Linked DNA regions of Homo sapiens: all the other regions are linked to region 1. Evidence: promoter capture Hi-C in 16 types of primary human blood cells and fetal thymus (Javierre and others, 2016). All regions are on one chromosome and are shown on one strand. The core of a region is centred on a gene start or on the middle of the fragment in contact, and the rest is flanking DNA. Distances in the headings are between cores, read along the strand shown.

Region 1 (2,700 bases), core at 126-2,625:
ACAATTAGTAGTTTTATCTGAGAATAAAAGTATCCTAAATAGATCCTGGCTGTGTGATTTCAGGCGCTCGAGGAGTGCCCTCCTGGAACGTCAGTTTCCTTCCTCAAAGCCCCGAGGGCAGGTTCTTAACACTGGCTGGAGGTCAAATAGGGTACTGACTATATTTCCATTTCACCAGCGAACTCCAAGGTCAAAAACAAGGCTACACCTGACAGAACATTTAAAAAAGAATTACACTGCTGTGCAAATACAAAGAAGTGTCCACTGATTTTCACCAACCCTGGGTGCACTGCCTATGAGTTAGCCCAGCTCCTCAAGGAAATTTACGATTAAAAAATAATTCATTGCCTTTCCACCTTCCAGCATAGTACTTCAAGTTGAGATGCTCACCGGGGCCTCCTAACCCCTCTCTTTGGATGCAACCCCTTTCTTCCTAGGTGGTCCATCCTACAGGACTGTTAAACCAATATTTCTTATTTGCCATTTTGAATCCTCAAGGATTCACTGAGTGCCTACTCTACACCTTCGCTTGAAAACTTTCAGAGATTTCCTGTATTCTGCTTCATGCCCAGCTCCACCTTCCCATCTAAACATTGCCCACTTACCCTAAGCCTTCCAGTCTTGCCAACCTCCAAAGCACCATGCCATGGGGCCTAAAATGCCCTCTTCTCTCCCCTCTGAGCCTGTTCAAACTCAGCTCAGTCTCTCGTCCTGGGTTTTGGTGTCTCTCCAGGGTAAAGGGGTGGGGAGGGTGCCTTCATTCTGACTGGCTCCCAGTGAGGCAGCCCCCCTTGAGGAAGAGGCTGAGATGCCAAGTGACTTGCCTGGAGTCATTTGCCAGCAGGCGATGGAATAGGGACTACGAGACACCCTGCAGCCTCTCCTGGGAGGACAACGCCCCTTCTCCCTCTCCATGCACTCTTGAGGCAGCAAAGAGGAGGCATCTGGACGCGTTTACCTCCTCCCCACCCCCACAGCTTGGCCCTCACTAAACTATCTTGTGTCCTTCCTCCTGCTATGATTGATTCGCCCAGGAAGGTGGGGCTTCATCTTTACCTTTCAAATATAATTCTTTAGTTCTCCTAATTACAAGGTGGGGGGTGGGGGGTGGGGGTGGGGTGAGGCGGGGGGTACAAAACAAAACAAAACTCCATGAAGCAACTTAGAAAGCACGACCGCAAAGGCCCTCCATCATCCCCACCCAGAGGTGAGGACAAGGTCTGGGGGTGCTGGGTGGCTTCAGACCTTCCACGGGTCCAAGCTATCTGCTTCAAGAGGGCATCGAAAGGTAACTCATAGACTTACCGCCCCCGCCCCCCGACTTTTGCAGGAGGGAGCGCTCTCCCCTCCTCTGGGAGGCTGGAGACTCGGGGACAGAAGATGCGCTGGAGGGAAGAGAACGGAGCGTCGGACACCAGAAAAACTTTGGGGGATTCGGGGTGAGAAAGAAGGCGTGAAGAGAGAAGGGAGGCTCAGCAGGGGAGGAGGGGCGGGGGCGGGGGCGGGAGCGGGAGGAGTCACTGCGCCGCGGCCGCCCCTCCCCGCCCTCCACTCGGCGGCCCCGGGTCTTCCTCCCCCTCCTCCTCCCCCTCCTCCTCCCCCTCCTCTTCCTCCGCCTCCTGGTGTGGCTGGCTGCGGCCAGAATCGGAGCCCCAACCGCGCTGCCGGTGAGTGACCAGCCCCAGGGGACAGAGACGGGAGGCCTGGGACCCCCCCTCTCCAGGGTGGGGCCTCCCGCCGTGTCTGGGAAAGTTTGCGGGCGCCCCGGGACGCGGGCATCTCCAGGGCCGCTCGGCGCCTCCCCATCTCCCCGCGCCCGCCCTGGCCGCCCCCAGGGGCGCCCTGGGGCCCGCAGAGGGATGGCCTCCCGGCAGGGACTCCTCGGCTCCCCTCTGTTCTGAGACTGCTGCTGGGACCGGGGTCCGACTCTAAAGAGAAAACTCAAACAGCAAAAAAAGGAATATCGACTCAGTTCCGAGGGCGGGGGCCGGGGCTCGTTCTCACCCGCGCGCGGCCCCTCGACCTCTCGGACCCGGGCCACCAGCTCTGCGCCCCTCACGCCTCCCTCGGGGTCTCTGTGTCTCTCTCCCGCTCCCGGACTCCCTCCTCCTTCTGACTGCTGTTATTTGGGCTGTTGTCCCTCCCCGCTCCCTGGTACCTCAGCTCGGACCTTAGCCTGTGCCTGCAGCCCGGAGTCCCCTCCTGCCCTGGAAGGCAAGGAGCCAGGCCACGGGGCCACAGCCGCGGGGGCCACCACACTGGCCCAAATATTTCCTGCAGGTATGACCATTCACTGGGTATTGGGGTTGGGTCCCTTGGACCCACAAACTGAACCTCGTGGGTACAGGGAAAAATTAAAATATATTCCTCCTTAGGATTGTACTGCTTCTGTTGGTTTGGCATCTTTTTATTTTTAACCCTTCTAACTGTGCTTTCTTCGAATAATAATGATACTTCATGTAATTAGCGTTTCTAATATCTAAAGACAGAAGAAGGAAGAAAATAAACGGAAGAGAGAGAATGCTTGCTAAAAATACTCATTTTTGACTTCAGTCCACACTCGACTGTTTTCCTGGGAGATAGAAGTTCAGTGTAGCTTGTTTTCAGACTAACCGCAAACACGATTACAGCCTCCTCCAGGCTAGAAGTTTTAATTTGCCTGACATGCAGCACACTGTTTGTTGGTATTCCCAGCCTGGC
Region 2 (2,700 bases), core at 25-2,524, 700 kb before region 1:
CTTTACACACAGTAAGTACTCAAACAGGATTTGATGAATTTTTTTTGCCAAATTTAGTAGAGGTTAAAAAGGGGATATTCTGAATACTCTAGTATACTATATGTTTAACTCTTCAAGAAAACAGGCCTCCAAGAATAACATACAAAAGTAGTTTTCAGACTTCATTTTCTAATAAAGAACAAATTATCTATAACTTATATCTCTATATTTGGATTATAACCTTATTCTTTTTTAAAACAAATCAGGAGCTATATAAAAGATAGCGTCTTCAAATATAAAACTTTTTCTTTGATTTTATACAGAATAAAAGTGAATACACACTGGGTGTATAAATACACTGTTATGGCAAAACTGACCATCAAAAAAACAAAAAGAGGCTAGACAAAGAGAACTTAATACTAGATTATTCACCATTTCAGATGTTTTCACCCATGAGGAGGGAGCACAATTAGTATAACTCTTAGTCTCTCTCTGCCAAGAGTTGAATGACATGTCTGGTGGATTTTTTCTTCTTCTTCTTTTTTTTTTTTTTTTTTTTTTTTTAGAGACAGGCTCTCACTCTGTTGTCTGGGTTGGAGTGCAAGGGTGCAATCACTCACTGAAGCCTCAATCTCCTGGGCTCAAACGATCCTCCCCACTCAACCTCCCAAGTAGCTGAGACCACGGGTGCATGGCACCAAGCCTGGCCAATTTTTGTGTTTTTAGTAGAGATGGAGTTTCATCATGTCGCCCAGGCTGGTCTCAAACTTTCAGCCTCAAGCAATCCTCCCGCCTTGGCCTCTCAAAGTGCTGGGATTACAGGTGTGAGCCACCATGCCGGGCCGACAAATCTGACTGGTAAACTTTTACAGCGCTGCAAGCAAAATTTGATACCTCTGAATGCAGTGATACAGTAAAAAAAAATTGATATACACTGACTAAACAGTATTCAAATGCAAGGGATAATCTTTTTGTTTTCTTTAGGTTTTGATTTTACAGAGTTAAGAGACTCAAGTACATCCACAAGTTTTTTTGGTTTTTTTTGAGACGGAGTCTCACTTTGTCACCCAGGCTTGAGTGCAGTGGCACGATCTCGGCTCACTGCAACCTCCATGTCCCGGGTTCACGCCATTCTCCTGCCTTAGCCTCCCGAGTAGCTGGGACTACAGGTGCCGCCACCATGCCCAGCTAATTTTTTGTATTTTTAGTAGAGACAGGGTTTCACCATGTCAGCCAGGATGGTCTCGATCTCCTAACCTCGTGATCCACCCGCCTCGGCCTCCCAAAGTGCTGGGATTACAGGTGTGAGCCACCGCGCCCAGCTGATCCACAAGTTTTTTAAGGCAAATAGCAGCCCTCTCCCTCATTTCCTTTATCCAGAGGGCCCCACTTTTAATTCTTTTAGCTGATTCTTTTGATTCACATCTATTTTATTAAGTAACTCACTGTACTTAGTCTTCACTTTCCAGTTTTAGGTATTATCCACTGACTTCTATTATGGGACAGCAGAATTTAGCTCTCCTACCTCTCTATCCCCCACAATATATACTCACACATTGTATCCTTTCAGTGTAGTTTAACCTTAATTTTGGTTAGATTAGTGTGCTATTCAGAGTTGAGCCATAAAATATGACTTCTTTGCTGCACAATTTTTTGGATTTTTTTCTCCTTTGCTTAGCTTTCTAGTGACAACTCTATCCTAAACTTGTTGCTAGTTGTCCAAATCACCTCTTCTTTTTATTTATTTTTTTGACACAGAGTCTCACTCTGTTGCCCAGGATGGAGTGCAGTGGCCCAATCTTGGCTCACTGCAACCTCTGCCTCCCAAGTTCAAGCGATTCTCCTGCATCATCTCCTATAAATCACCTCTTAATACATTTACATTTACATTAGGTTTACCAATTTATCTTTCTGAACAGCTTTATTGGAGCTTTAACCTGCTCCAATCTGGTTGGCTGCCCTGGTCACAGGCATGCAGTCATTTACCACATTGTATTAATAAATTAGGTTAAGGATTAAATATGTCACCTAATTCCATCAAATATGGAGTTTATAATCTGTATCTTTTGTTTCAGAGTAACTTTCAAGAAAATAAAGCAGCAAAAAGTTTTCTTTTCTCAACGACCTTAAAATGAGAAGCCTCTACATTGGCACAACAATGATTTTACTACCTTTAGAAATGACAAAGATTGATTGACTTATAGTTTTATAATTTTGCAAGAAAACTTATTTTTATTATGGATTCAGTTAATGTAATTTTGCTTCAAGATTTTTTTGTTTGTTTGTTTTTGTTTTTGAGACAGAGTGTCTGTCGCCCAGGCTGGAGCGCAGTGGCGCACTTTCGGCTCACTGCAACCTCTACCTCCTGGGTTCAAGTGATTCTCCTGCCTCAGCCTCCCGAGGAGCTGGGACTTTTGGTGTGAGCCACCACGCCCAGCTAATTTTTGTATTTTTAGTAGAGATGGGGTTTCACTATGTTGGCCAGGATGGTCTGGAACTCCTGACCTCAAGTGATCTGCTCGCCTCGGCTTCCCGAAGTGCTGGGATTATAGGCATGAGCCACTGAACCCGGCCTGCTTCAAGACGTATTTTAATAGAATGCAACTATTTTGTTAAGCAATACCTCTAGTACAAAATAAATCAATAATACAGAACTGTAAGAAATTAGATTTTTTTTTTTTTTTGAGGTGGAGTTTCACTGTCTCCTAGGCTGGAGCGCAG
Region 3 (2,700 bases), core at 1-2,500, 640 kb before region 1:
AAAATAGCTGAGCAACCTTTTTCTTTTAAAAATTACTTTCAACCACTCTGAAAGGTTAACTTACTTTTAGGCTTGTTCTTCTTTGGAATAACACTTAAAATTTCCTGTTAGACAGTTTTTCAGCCATTGCAATGTTTTACAAATCTTATTGCTATGATACAGTATCATGTGTTTATACACACCCAAGCACCCAAACCACACACACTTCAGAACCTCAACTGTAGCCCCTATCTGCTATATTTGGTTCTAGCTAGACAGTTCAAAGAGTCTGCTCATTTTTTTTCTGTCCACACAGATTAAAACACATCTGCTTTTTTAAAAACAGGTTATTCAAAGTAATTTGATTTGTTCTTGGTTGAGTACTTAATCGCACCCAGTTTTTAATCATCTATGAACATATTTAATATGCTCAATAATGTAAATTAGGTAATTATATGAACACACCTTGGACTAGAGAAGATGAAGGAAAACAGAAACATTCATTCACTAAGTGTCTATGTGCAAATGGCTAGCAGTACTTTTTTTTATAAGTTAGCAGTATTTTTTTATAAGTTACAGTTTCCATAACATAACTTTCTAAAATCTCCCCCAACTGACATAACACCAATATGACTGCTTCATGAAAAAACAAAAGCTTTGTTTAAATCCGGTTATGTTGCTTTTCTTCCTTCTTCAGCTACTAAAAGCCACTGTTTCAGAGAAATACATTAAATAAATCTGTGATTGGCTCTTCATAGAACCATGTAGACTATTCCCTAGAATCTATACTTACTGATTTTTCCTTAACCACATCAGTAGCTTCCAATTAAAAAACAAAAAGCAACAAAATTTAGTTGATCTCTTTAATGAAGGTTTTCTAGTGTGCTTTCTCAGGAAAACACTTGTTTTCTCTTGGTTTAGGTTTATAAGAAGCCTGTAAGATGGTCCGACAACTTATCAAGTGAGTGTGAGATGAGTCAATTAAAAATCTAAGAACTAAATTCATGTTTCAAAGTCCTACATTTTTAAAAAAATGGTTATTACTTATTCCCAAACACATTCTTCTTAGAAATCCTCTTAGAAAGTGAGAGGGTTTTTTTTTTTTTAACCAATAATGATGAAATTATTTCCCTTAGCAATCTGTTTCAACACCTAATAAATTGACAGTGACTAATTTCTTCACAGGTAAACTCAAGTTTTACGAAAAGAAAATATTCCCCACATAAAATTATTAAACAGACATGAGTCCATACCACTAGGGTACCTTCAGAAAAAATAGCCACCTGTTGTGATCAACATTAAATTCCTCTTTTCTAATTATCCAGTACATTTGCATACTAAATTTTTCATCTTCCATCATTCAACAGGCTTGTGAGCAAAACATTTGTACGTATTTACTACCATAATCAAATTATCTGACGCAAAAAGAATTTTATGCTACAGTCGCAAACTTATCCTGGAAAGAAAGAATCACTGGTTCAGAGTCCCAAATATCAAATTCCTGGGCTCAAGCAATCCTACTGCCTCAGTCTCCTGAGTAGCTAGGACTACAGGTACATGCCACCAGGCCTGGCTAATTTTTATTATTTATTTATTTATTTATTTATTTCAGAGACAGGGTCTCAGTATGTTGGTAGGCTGGTCTTGCACTCTTGGTCTTAAAGGATCCTCTCACCTCATCCTTCCAAAATGCTAGGACTGCAGGCATGAGCCATGGTGAGTGGACTAATTTTAATTCTGAACTGACTTCCTGATTATCAGTCATCCTCATTTACTAGAAATAATATAGTCAATTATCATCCTAAAGTTGCTGTGAATAAAAATATAGATGTCTATAAATTAATAAGCACTTAAAGCACACTTCCAACATTAAAAATATGTAACATTTAAGCTTTTATTCAAATTTAAAATGCCCTACATGGGGACTGTATCATCAATCAAGTAGTATGAGTTCACGACACAATCAGAATTATAAAATTATTGGCAGGGCACGGTGGCTCACACCTGTAATCCCAGCACTCAGGAGGCCGAGGTGGGTGGACCACCTGAGGTCAGGAGTTTGAGACCATCCTGGCCAACATGACAAAACCCCATCTCTACTAAAAATACAAAAAGTCAGCTGGACATGGTGGCAAGCGCCTATAACCCCAACTACTTGGGAGGCTGAGGCAGGAGACTTCTTGAACTCGGGAGGCAGAGGTTGCAGTGAGCCAAGACTGGGCCACTGTGCTCCAGTCTGGGCGACAGAGCGAGACCCTGTCTAAAAAAAAGAAAAAAAAAAATATTATTATTATTGAGACACAGTCTTGCTCTATTGCTCACGCTGGAATGCAGTGGTGCAATCATAGCTCACCGCAGCCTTGACCTCTAGAGCTTAAGTGATCCTCCCATCTCAGCCTCCTGAGCAGTTGGGACCACAGGCATGTGCCACCATACCGGGATTTTTTTTTTTTTAATTTTTTTTGTAGAGATGGAGTCTCCCTATGTTGCTCAGACTAGTATCAAACTCCCGGGCTCAAGCGATCCTCCTGCCTCTGCCTCCCAACATGCTGGGATTACAGGCATGAGCCACTGCCAAAACTATTACTTTTTACTTTATTCTCATACATGAATACTACCTTCTTAACAAATGTTTAAGTGTACAATACAGTACTGTTGACTATAGGTACAATACTGTATGGCGGAACTTATTCATCCTGCTTAACTGAAACTTCATGCCTG
Region 4 (2,700 bases), core at 201-2,700, 730 kb before region 1:
AGTTTCATGTTTTGTTCCTTTTTCAATAGATAAGATAGGGAATGAGCAAGTTAATAAAGTGGGTATTTTAATTTTAAGGTTGAAACTAAGGATCATAACATTATCAGAGGTCTAGAACTGGATGGCAGCTACAGAGATCATTTAGCCTAATACTGGTTTAACAAATAATCCGGGAGATCCGTGATATGTGAATGTGCTAGGCCTGAGATGAGACAGCCAATTGTGGAAGAGCAAACACTAGAACCAGTATAAGTTGCTTACTGCTTTCTTATGCTATTAATGAGCATATCGCCTCCTGATATTTATGATATATGGTCATGCCAACAGCTTTGTCATAAATAGAACTCCCATGGCAGCAATCACTTAATCTTGTAGTTAGAGGTGGGGTCTCACCATGTTGCCGAGCTGGCCTTGAACTTCTGGGCTCAGCGATTTTCTCCACAGGCACCTGCTACTGTGCTCGGTGCAGCACTTTGTGTTTTTGAACATAACCTCAAGATGTTATTGTCTTCATAGTAAAACAAAAGATGAGGCTTAGAACTGGATCACTTTGCCTGTCTCTTCTTACCTCCTCCCAGTTCAAAATGCTTGCATCTCTTAATAGCTAGCATTCCCTTGGATTTTGCACATGAGCTCAAACTCAAGCCTCAGCACAATCTTTTTTATAGTTTTAGTCTTTTAGCCAGAGTCGACTTACCCCCCATACCCACTCTGCTTCCTTCATAATGCTGCTTTCCCTGGGCAGAGAATCCTTGCCCTTCTTGTATTATGTCACTTTGTGGGGTTGGTGTCTGCTACACTTACAGCAAGTCCAGAGATTTTTTTTCCACCACGTTTGCAGGAGAACTATTGGCATGGAAAATGACAATTGTTTTAATGTCAAGTGAAACTGAAGTTGATGTTCATTGAGAGGTTTCTAATTTCTAGAGGTGGGTTCTTTTTTTGGCATATGAAGTTGCAGCATATTAAGAGAATTTACAGTAGTACAGATGGGGTTATCCCATCCACAACTTATGATGGGGTTACATAAACTAAAAACGTGTTTAATACACCTACCCCACCGAATATTGTAGCTTGGGCGTAGCCTAACCTATCTCAGACGTGCTCAGAACACTTAAATGTTAGCCTAAAGTTGGGCAAGATCATCTAACACAAAGCCTATTTTATAATAAGGAATTGCCTATCTCATGTAATTCATCGAATACTGTACTAAAAATGAAAAACAGTGGCTGCACGGGTACCATTATAAAGTCAAAAAATCATAAGTTGAACTGTCTTACATTATGGTTTTCCAAATTTTGATTTGTTTTTAAATACTCTTTCCTTGCCTGGCAGGTAGGCACAACTTACGTAACAGATAAGAGTGAAGAAGATAATGAAATTGAGAGTGAAGAGGAAGTACAGCCTAAGACACAAGGATCTAGGCGAAGTAGCCGCCAAATAAAAAAACGAAGGGTCATATCAGATTCTGAGAGTGACATTGGTGGCTCTGATGTGGAATTTAAGCCAGACACTAAGGAGGAAGGAAGCAGTGATGAAATAAGCAGTGGAGTGGGGGATAGTGAGAGTGAAGGCCTGAACAGCCCTGTCAAAGTTGCTCGAAAGCGGAAGAGAATGGTGACTGGAAATGGCTCTCTTAAAAGGAAAAGCTCTAGGAAGGAAACGCCCTCAGCCACCAAACAAGCAACTAGCATTTCATCAGAAACCAAGAATACTTTGAGAGCTTTCTCTGCCCCTCAAAATTCTGAATCCCAAGCCCACGTTAGTGGAGGTGGTGATGACAGTAGTCGCCCTACTGTTTGGTATCATGAAACTTTAGAATGGCTTAAGGAGGAAAAGAGAAGAGATGAGCACAGGAGGAGGCCTGATCACCCCGATTTTGATGCATCTACACTCTATGTGCCTGAGGATTTCCTCAATTCTTGTACTCCTGGGATGAGGAAGTGGTGGCAGATTAAGTCTCAGAACTTTGATCTTGTCATCTGTTACAAGGTGGGGAAATTTTATGAGCTGTACCACATGGATGCTCTTATTGGAGTCAGTGAACTGGGGCTGGTATTCATGAAAGGCAACTGGGCCCATTCTGGCTTTCCTGAAATTGCATTTGGCCGTTATTCAGATTCCCTGGTGCAGAAGGGCTATAAAGTAGCACGAGTGGAACAGACTGAGACTCCAGAAATGATGGAGGCACGATGTAGAAAGATGGCACATATATCCAAGTATGATAGAGTGGTGAGGAGGGAGATCTGTAGGATCATTACCAAGGGTACACAGACTTACAGTGTGCTGGAAGGTGATCCCTCTGAGAACTACAGTAAGTATCTTCTTAGCCTCAAAGAAAAAGAGGAAGATTCTTCTGGCCATACTCGTGCATATGGTGTGTGCTTTGTTGATACTTCACTGGGAAAGTTTTTCATAGGTCAGTTTTCAGATGATCGCCATTGTTCGAGATTTAGGACTCTAGTGGCACACTATCCCCCAGTACAAGTTTTATTTGAAAAAGGAAATCTCTCAAAGGAAACTAAAACAATTCTAAAGAGTTCATTGTCCTGTTCTCTTCAGGAAGGTCTGATACCCGGCTCCCAGTTTTGGGATGCATCCAAAACTTTGAGAACTCTCCTTGAGGAAGAATATTTTAGGGAAAAGCTAAGTGATGGCATTGGGGTGATGTTACCCCAGGTGCTTAAAGGTATGACTTCA
Region 5 (2,700 bases), core at 148-2,647, 750 kb before region 1:
AAGTTTCTTCTGCTTTTAGTCAGATTTAGGAAGCTCTGAGAAGGCTTCTTTCTGCATCTGTTGAATCTCAAATGTCTTCAGCCTAAAATAATCTTTATACACCAAATCAGGGATTCTGAGTGGTTCCCCACAGGGCTTATCCAGTTCCATCATACTTTGGCTCATTGTGAAATGGCAAAGGGGGCAAAAGCAGCCTGAGGGGAAGGGAAAGATTTATATTTATAGTGCATACATTAGACGCCTGGCAGCAGTTTTCACTTCATCTCATTCCATCCTCCCAATACCTCCATAAGCAAATATTAGTGAATCCCCATTTATCAGATTAGGAGACCAAGGCTCAAGTGCAAAAAATTTACCCAGGGTGCCCAACCTGTACCTGAGGTTGCCAGGATTGAGAACAGGTCTGCGTGGCCTCAGAGCAGGGCTGATCCCAGAACAGTGAATGCAGAGGGCAGGAATGGCCAGTCAGTTGGGAAGCAAGACTGGGGCCAGACTTTGGAGATCAGAGGCTGAGACCATATTAGAAAAGTACCTGGCAATTCCACCTAGGATGGCTTTGGAGAGCTAGAGAAATACTGGTGCTAGCCCTCCCCATCTCTCTATCCCCCAGGGCCATTTGTGGTCTGAGATAATGAAAGTTTCCAGCCAGTTAGTCGAGGTGGCTCATGTCTGTATTCCCAGCATTTTGGGAGGCTGAGGTGGGAGGACTGCTTGAGCTCAGGAGTTTGAGACCAGCTTGGGCAACATAGGGAGACCCCATCTCTACAAAAAAAATTTTAAAAATTAGCCAGGCATGGTAGTAGCATGCCTGTAGTCCCAGCTATTCTAGAGGCTGAGGCAGGAGGACTGCTTGAGACCAGGAGGTTGAGACTGCAATGAGCCATGTTCGCACCACTGGTGACAGAGCCAGACCCTGGCTCAAAAAATAAAATAATAATGGATGTTAGTCACAGGATGGAGAAGATAGCTGGAGTGGGGGAAGGGAGTGCCTCCAGGCTATGGAAGCCCTCAGGCCCATCTTTCCTCTCTCCAAGTGGACTCTGGGTCTGTCTTCCCCAGCCATCCTCCCAGAGCCTCCACCACACCTTTGGTACTTAGGGGAGTACACAAGAGGCTTTGATTTCTGTACCCTTGCTGACCAAAGGCAGAGTGCAAGTGCTATTTCTTTCCACCTGACTTGCACAAAGTTTCTCCCCTCCTTTTTCCTGAGAATTGAGAAAGTTAAAATAAGCAAGGAATGAGAAATCTGAAACATTCCAGGCCATTCATCTGGCTGGGATAACAAAGATAAAGTCAGCTACAAAGTTAAACAGGAAACACAATCTGTCCCAAGGATAAACTGCCATCCCAAAGTAGCATAAGGAAAACTTTTTTTTACTCTTGACAATCTCAGAAATCTTGTTCTCTAAAGTCATAGGCTTTCAGAAACTTTGCTGGCTGAAATTATTGTTATTATTTATTTATTTAGAGACAGGGTCTCAGTCTGTCACCCAAGCTGGAATGCAATGGTGCGATCACGGTTCACTGCAGCCTCGGCCTCACGGGTTCAAGTGATTCTTCCACAACATCGCCAGTAGTTGAGACTATAGGCATGCATCACCATGCCCAGCTGGTTTATTTTTAATTTTTGTGTTTTTTTTTTTTGTAGAGAAAGGGTCTCACTCTGCTGCCTAGGCTGGTCTTGTACTCCTGGGCTCAAGGAATCCTCCCACCTCGGCCTCCCAAACTGTTGAGATTACAGGCGTAAGCCACCTCCCCTTGCCTTGCTGTTTGAAATTATATCAGCAAAAATGAAACATCCCACTCTTGCCTGGAGCGTCTTACTTTGACACAGAAACAGCTTTGATTTACAACCCAGGTGTGTAACTTTAGATACGGGATTTGTGGACGCTATTCCACATCTATCTTAACTTTGCTGTTTCCAAGGAAATGCGACCTTGGGTGGACTTTGTAGTTTAGCTTTGTCTTTACACACAGCTAGATTTGAGCTTTCAAAACACTGTTTCAGGTAAATTTATCCTAAACTCCACCCTCTCCCTCCCTTTTGTAGTTTGGTGAGACACCCCCATGGTTCGTCTGCTGTGGAGGCTCCCCCGTTGCAACCAGCAAAACAAACCCTGACTTTGGCAGACTACAGGCTTGTCCCTGGTGATCGTGAGCTGCTTGGGCTAGGACGGAACCCTCACAAAACATGCCCCTCCTTTCTTCATCCTTGACTTTATCTCCCAAGGCCCAGGACAAAGACGTAGATTGCTGGGTCACGCTGTTCCTTGGACGGGCAAAGGGGGGAACACAGGGCACTGTATTCTTCTGGAGAATACTTGTTTTCTTCTTCTGTTTTGTGTGTGTGTGTGTGTTGTTTTTGTTTTTTTTTTCTGAGACAGGGTCTCAAGGTAGGAGTGCAGTGGCCTGATCATAGCTCACTGCAACCTCAAGCTCCTGGGATCAAGCAATCTTCCTGCCTTGAGCCTCCCGAGTAGAGAGTAGTTAGGACTATAGGCACGTGCCACCACTCCTGGCTAAATTTTTTAAATGTTTTTGTAGAGAAGGAGGCGGTTCTCACTATGTTGCTAGCTGGTCTTGAACTCCTGGCCTCAAGTCATCCTTCTGTCTTGGCCTCCCAAAGTGTTGGGATTGTAAGTGTGAGCCACTGTCCCTGGCCAGTTGGTGATTTATTTGTATAACTGTCCAATTTATTGA

What was found. The method cuts DNA at HindIII sites, captures the fragments that hold promoters and counts their contacts. A CHiCAGO score of 5 or more calls a contact.
Region 2: a fragment that was not itself captured here is called in contact with the fragment with the promoter of STON1-GTF2A1L in region 1 in 3 of 17 cell types (neutrophils, monocytes and total B cells); the score reaches 9.4 in neutrophils.
Region 3: a fragment that was not itself captured here is called in contact with the fragment with the promoter of STON1-GTF2A1L in region 1 in 2 of 17 cell types (fetal thymus and megakaryocytes); the score reaches 7.7 in fetal thymus.
Region 4: a fragment that was not itself captured here is called in contact with the fragment with the promoter of STON1-GTF2A1L in region 1 in 1 of 17 cell types (neutrophils); the score reaches 6.0 in neutrophils.
Region 5: a fragment that was not itself captured here is called in contact with the fragment with the promoter of STON1-GTF2A1L in region 1 in 1 of 17 cell types (activated CD4 T cells); the score reaches 5.7 in activated CD4 T cells.

The regions. Positions count from the first base shown.
Region 1 is chr2:48,528,550-48,531,249 of GRCh38, forward strand. It overlaps STON1-GTF2A1L (STON1-GTF2A1L readthrough), which reads left to right and starts at 1,376. Exons shown (of 11, transcript NM_001198593.2): 1 at 1,376-1,439. It overlaps STON1 (stonin 1), which reads left to right and starts at 1,605. Exons shown (of 4, transcript NM_006873.4): 1 at 1,605-1,667. RefSeq lists an enhancer at 1,598-2,145 and a silencer at 1,737-1,936. The HindIII fragment of the contact is 9,785 bases long and covers 1-2,700 here.
Region 2 is chr2:47,825,054-47,827,753 of GRCh38, forward strand. The region is part of intron 11 of FBXO11 (F-box protein 11); the gene reads right to left. Among named protein-coding and RNA genes, the nearest start is that of MSH6, 43 kb to the left of the region's middle. The HindIII fragment of the contact is 5,049 bases long and covers 1-2,700 here.
Region 3 is chr2:47,888,562-47,891,261 of GRCh38, forward strand. The region is part of intron 1 of FBXO11 (F-box protein 11); the gene reads right to left. Among named protein-coding and RNA genes, the nearest start is that of FBXO11, 17 kb to the right of the region's middle. The HindIII fragment of the contact is 1,236 bases long and covers 633-1,868 here.
Region 4 is chr2:47,797,276-47,799,975 of GRCh38, forward strand. It overlaps MSH6 (mutS homolog 6), which reads left to right. Exons shown (of 10, transcript NM_000179.3): 4 at 1,336-2,700. It also overlaps the pseudogene RPL36AP15. Among named protein-coding and RNA genes, the nearest start is that of MSH6, 15 kb to the left of the region's middle. The HindIII fragment of the contact is 3,395 bases long and covers 1-2,700 here.
Region 5 is chr2:47,775,587-47,778,286 of GRCh38, forward strand. No RefSeq gene overlaps it. Among named protein-coding and RNA genes, the nearest start is that of MSH6, 6.2 kb to the right of the region's middle. The HindIII fragment of the contact is 4,643 bases long and covers 1-2,700 here.